Linked DNA regions of Homo sapiens: region 1 is linked to region 2. Evidence: promoter capture Hi-C in 16 types of primary human blood cells and fetal thymus (Javierre and others, 2016). All regions are on one chromosome and are shown on one strand. The core of a region is centred on a gene start or on the middle of the fragment in contact, and the rest is flanking DNA. Distances in the headings are between cores, read along the strand shown. Region 1 overlaps CLN6 (CLN6 transmembrane ER protein). Region 2 holds the start of C15orf61 (chromosome 15 open reading frame 61).

Region 1 (2,853 bases), core at 180-2,679, 710 kb before region 2:
CGCTGGGAGAGCTCCCCAGGGCGGTGGGTACACACACCTCGTCACTCGGACCCCCAACTTATCCGCAAGTTCCGGGCGCCACCTCCGCGTTCTCGGGGTCCCTCCAGCCCTGAGTAGGACTTGATTCTGTCATTTATCAGGAGGCTGTCTGCTTGACCTGGGGCACCCAAGAATGTGCGAATGTAATGGAAGAGACAGCGGGGAAGGGCGGAAGCTGCCGTCCAGAGAATGAATGAGGAGCCCTTCTCAGTTTTTGGTTTATCTCGTTGGGCGAGCAGAGCTCCATTCTACCTTCGTCCCGTTTTACTGACCAGAAACATTCACTGCATTCAGCAGGCATTCTTTAAGCGCCTGTGGTATGCCCAGCGCTGTGCCAGGCAGTAAGGGGGTAGGCAGGGTGAAGGTGGGAGAGGCTTACGGTCCTGTAGGGATCAGGAGAGACAGAGCCCAAGTGGGAGTGAGCGGTCATCTTGGAGGGCTTCATGGAGGAAGTGGCACTTGAGCTGAGTCTCAGAGGACTTGGTAGGGGACCCAGGGAAGACAGGCTGTTCCATCCAGGGAAACAGTGGGGAAGGGCAAGGAGTTTAGTGGTGCTGGAGCTTTCCGGCTGTAAAAGAAAGTGACAGGAGGATGCAGACTGATTGTGAAGGGCCTTTAATTGCAGCAAGTCTAGGACTCGAGTTGAGGACCTAGATTGCAAAACTTAGGGGTAGGCGCACTGCCGTGACCGTGAGTGCCGCCTCAAATGTTGGGCCTTGGAGGCCTTGCTTGTCTCACCCTAGTTCCTGTCCTAGGTGACAGGTTAAGGACACAGTCTTTATCCCATAGGCACTGGGGAGTCGTGAGAAGTTTCTGAGCACTAGCATGCGCAAAGTCCTTGTTAGGAAGTTTTTGGTACGACCTGGATGAAGGGAGAAGTCTGAGCGCTTGGGCTGAGGTGAGGGATGGCTCGTTTCTGCTGCTGCGGACATGCGGGCTGAGCAGCTGCGGACTGTGTCCGTTTTCACTTAGAAACAATGTACTGGCCATAGACCGCATACTGTAGCTCACCTGTCTCCCTCGGCCTGTGAGTTAAGTATTATTTTACTGATGAGGAAATAGGCTTAGATGGGCTGAGGAGCCTGACTGGCTGAGTCCCCGGGCTGTCTGCCCCACGCCGTGTCCAGTGGTTTCATCTCTGCTGTGACCCAACCCATTTACCAGCTCCCCTCTTCCAGGCAGCCTCTTCTGCCTGCGGGATGTCTCTGTTCCGAATCCTTGCCAAGTTGGGGGTCACTGACTGCCCTGAACTGTGACAGCCCAATGGGAACAGCCTGTGGGTCTCAGATAGGGTCACCACTTTATCTCCTGTGTGGGGCTCCCATGTCTAGCATCTTACTCAGTCTTGACAATGAGCTGCCAGATGTCACTTCCAATGTACAGATGGGGAAATGGAGGCCCAAAGAGGTTACATCATTTGCTGGCAAGAACCAGGGCCTAAACCCAGGGTTTCTGACTTACGGGCTCTGCTCTTACGACTCCACTTTGGCTGCTAAGGAGTCATGTCCCTCTTCCCCTGTGTGAGCTCCCCACCAGCCAGGGTATTCCCAGGGGGGTGGTGTGAGGGTGGGAGCTCTCTGTCTCCCAGGGTGTCTCTGCCCCCCACAATGTGGCTTCAGCCCATTCCCAGTATCATTGCTGCTCAAGAGAGTAGGCAGAATCATCCTGTCCAGTTCCTAGGATGCTTGGATTTCCTCTGCTGCATCCGTGCTTTGCTCACTACCTCTTAAGGTAACCCATTCCAACGTCCACCTGCTTTGTTGCCAGTTTTTGTATTATAATGAAAGTGTTACAATTAGGCCGGGTGCCATGGCTCACGCCTGTAATCCCAGCACTTTGGGAGGCCAAGGTGGGTGGATCACTTGAGTCCAGGAGTTCGAGACCAGCCTGGCCAACATGGAGAATCCCCGTCTCTACTAAAAAATACAAAAATTATCCAGGTGTGATGGCCCATGCCTGTAATCCCAGCTACTCAGGAGGCTGAGGCACCAGGATCCCTTGAGCCTGGGAGGCGGAGGTTGTAGTGAGCCGAGATGGCGCCACTGCACTCCAGCCTGGATGACAGTGAGACTGTCTCAAAAAAAAAAAAAAGTAAAAAAAGAAAAGAAAAGAAAGTATTATAATTAGTGCCCGTGATAAATCAAATAGCAAAGGCTTCAAGTTTTAAAAAGTAGTAATCCCTGTCCCACTCTTCCCTAGCACCAGAGACAATCACCCTAGCTTCTTTTAGCTCTTTTTTCCAGAGTCAAATTCCTATTTCCAAATAATATGTTTATAACAATAAAAAACACTAGCACTTTTTATGGATCAGGCCCTGCTCTTAAGTTTTTGCATGTATTAATTAAACCACGACCCTTGAGATACGATCTACTGGCCAGGTGTGGTGGCTCATGCCTGTAATCCCAGCACTTTGGGAGGCCGAGATGGGCGGATCAGGAGGTCAGGAGTTCAAGACCAGCCTGACCAACATGGAGAAACCCTGTCTCTACTAAAAATACAAAAATTAGCCAGGCATGGTGTCATGCGCATGTAGTCCCAGCTACTCGGGAGGCTGAGGCAGGAGAATTACTTGAACTCAGGAGGCGGAGGTTGCGGTGGGCCAAGATCGCGCCATTATACTCCAGCCTGGGCAACAAGAGTGAGACTCCGTCTCAAAAAAGAAAAAAAAGGGATAGGATCTACTATTATCTCCATTTTACAAATGAGGACATTAAGGCCCAAGAAGTTAAGTGACTTGCTCAAGATCTGGTTAGTGGCAGAGCTGGGATATGAACCCAAACAGTCTCCAAAGTCCAGACTCTTTTTTTTTTTTTT
Region 2 (2,700 bases), core at 56-2,555:
CTGCGCAGGGTTTAGTTTTAATCCTGGCTTTAAAAACCTGGCTGGGTAACATGGTTCATTCAGCTCCATGGCTAGATTTTGAATCACTGAAATCTAGATTGATTTTATGCCAGCTATTAGTAAGTTCAAAACATCTTGAGGCCTTCTGTTTTCCCCTGACCTATAAAAGATACACCCATGTCCATGTTCGTACCTCCCTCTTCTGTCATTAAACCAAAAGAAAATAAACACCTAGTGACAGTAAACATCCTCAGGGCGTCTCCATGAAAATATACAAATATTAAAGATCTTTAAAAATCTTTTAGGCCTAGCACCTCAGGAAGCTGTTATGTCTGGTGAAAACCTTTGGTGCTTTTAGTAAAACGAACTTGCCGGGAATTCATACAAAGAAAACAAAAGAAACTTAAAAGAGTAGTTCCAGTTATTGCAACATAAACGCAGCTGCAAAGTGATGTTCACGGGAATGAGTCCTGCCATGCAGTAGGACGGATGTCAACTTCAGAGCCACTTTCTAGGGGGCGTTTCCTGACGCCCCCTGGCTTACTGCCCAGGCCAGGGGTCTACTCTGGTTAACATGGGCAGGACAGGAGGGCGACCCGCCCCTCCCTAGGCCCGAGGACGCGCCCGCAGCAGGCGAACGGCTTCGGGTGCCAGGAGCTCAGCAAGCTGGGGACCCCCTGGGCGAGGAGTACAAAGGACCCCAGGCGAAGCCGGCGCCGGGAGGCAGAGCTGACTCCCGCGGGACTCTACCGGCCTGCGAGCGTTCGTCACGTGCTCGGTGGCTGAGGGGCCGTCCCGGCCGGGCGGGCTTCACCGCGTGGGCGCGGCAGTCGCCACTCACCGAGGTTGACGACCTTGAGCGCCGTGAAGAAGCGGTTCTGCCGGGCCAGGTCCTGCCAGGGAGCCTTGGAGCAGTGGTACTTGATGAAGGGGAAGCAGCCGGTGCGCAGGACGTGGTAGTTGGCGCCCTGCACCGGCCAGTTGAAGTGCGAGAGGCCGAACTGGTCGTTGCGGACGGCGCTGTAGGGCACGCAGAAGGAGGTCCAGTGCGGCAGGCGCCGCTGCAGCAGATGCCGCGTCAGCACCTCCGAGGCGCTGGGCTTGGGGCGGGCGGCGGCGCGCGAGGCCCACGGCCTACACAGCAGCAGGCGGAGCGCGACCTCGTGGGCCCTCCTCAGGGCCTCCATGGCCCGCCGCGCCGGGGACGCAGGCTGGTGTCCGCAGCCGCTGGCGCGCAAGCGCGCCCCCGGGCGAGCGCCGGGAAGGCCAACCGGCGCCGCGCGGGTGCCCGAGAGCCCCCGGTGTGCGGCGGCGCGTGCGCACAGCGGCCCCGTGGCCTCCCGCTGGGGGTGGAGTCCGGGGGATGGGAAGCGTGAGCTGCGCGAGGCGGAGGGTCACCTGCGTCAAGGAGCTGGTTTTGAGTGGCCAGGTGTGACCTCACGCCGTCATTAGTAACTCGGGCAGGGGAGGGATTCGGGGAGGTCTCATCAATTTGGGCCTGAGGAAAATTCAGGTGGAAGACAATTAAATAACTAACCACCTCCGCAAGGTGCAGAACTCAAACCCAAGTCTCCCTCCCACGCCCTGGGCTCCAGGGAAGCCCTTGGGTGTTGTTGTTGAAACAGGACGAGGCGTGACCCCGGGTCTGCGTTGTTTGGTAAGGCCGGGAGCACTTTTGTGTGTAGGTCCTCGCTGTCGGGTTCACTGTTTAAAATTAGTCCCAGAGATTTCAAAATCAAAAGTTTATTTAAAAACCTCACGTGTCTCAGTGCAGCGTCCGAACACACAAAGGCACCTCCCTCTAAGAACCTGGTAGACGGACCAGGAGCCTCTTATCGAGCTTTGTGGACCTCAGTCACCCATTACCAATCCATTACTTTCGGAAAAGCTTTGCTCAAACTTTGCGGCCTCTTGAGGCAGTAACTTACGGACAAAACTGCTTTTAGAAAAGGATTTCCTCTTTTGTCCTAAACTCATTTTGTTTGGAGAGGCCATACATAAACAAGATGATGTGTCTGAAACCACCTTATGTAAATGAGGTACAGTAATTACGCGTTAAGCATCATATAACAATTACTATCGTTGCTAAAAACTCAAGGGGGATGTAGGATAGTATGGCGAAATTTTATATTCCCCAGTTTTTTGTTTTGTTTTGTTTTGTTTTTTTGAGACGGAGTCTCACTCTGTTGCCCAGGCTGGAGTGCAGTGGTGCAATCTCAGCTCACTGCAACCTCTGCCTCCCAGGTTCAAGTGATTTTCCTGCCTCAGCCTCCCGAGTGGCTGGGATTACAGGCGTGCACCACCACGCCTGGCTAATTTTTGTATTTTTAATAGAGACGGGGTTTCACCATGTTGGCCAGGCTGGTCTCAAACTCATGACCTCGTGATCCACCTGCCTCGGCCTCCCAAAGTGCTGGGATTACAGGCGTGAGCCACTGCACCAGGCCTATTCCCCAGTTTTTATTGAACATTGAGCACCCACCAACATATGCCGAATCTTGAACTTTACCTTACAGAATTTGAAGTTGAACTTTACCTTATAGAACTTGAACTTTATAGAATTTCTTTTTCTTTTCTTTTTTTTAGAAAGGATCTCACTGTTGTCTAGGCTGGAGTGCAGCTGCTCGATCTCGGCTCACTGCAACTTCTGCCTCCTGGGCTCAAGAGATCCTCCCACCCTCAGCCTCCCAAGTAGCTGGG

The links. Contacts are between HindIII fragments. The CHiCAGO score rates a contact against its expected background, and 5 or more counts as called.
Region 1: a fragment that was not itself captured here is called in contact with the fragment with the promoter of C15orf61 in region 2 in 1 of 17 cell types (total CD8 T cells); the score reaches 7.1 in total CD8 T cells.

What each region holds. Positions count from the first base shown.
Region 1 is chr15:68,226,323-68,229,175 of GRCh38, reverse strand. The region is part of intron 1 of CLN6 (CLN6 transmembrane ER protein); the gene reads left to right. Among named protein-coding and RNA genes, the nearest start is that of CLN6, 2.0 kb to the left of the region's middle. RefSeq lists enhancers at 1-63, 94-163. The HindIII fragment of the contact is 5,228 bases long and covers 1-2,853 here.
Region 2 is chr15:67,519,736-67,522,435 of GRCh38, reverse strand. C15orf61 (chromosome 15 open reading frame 61) reads right to left here and starts at 1,305. Exons shown (of 2, transcript NM_001143936.2): 1 at 842-1,305. The coding sequence starts at 1,187. It overlaps IQCH-AS1 (IQCH antisense RNA 1), which reads left to right and starts at 592. Exons shown (of 6, transcript NR_040052.1): 1 at 592-917. RefSeq lists enhancers at 879-998, 1,639-1,718 and a silencer at 1,109-1,458. The HindIII fragment of the contact is 4,154 bases long and covers 1-1,890 here.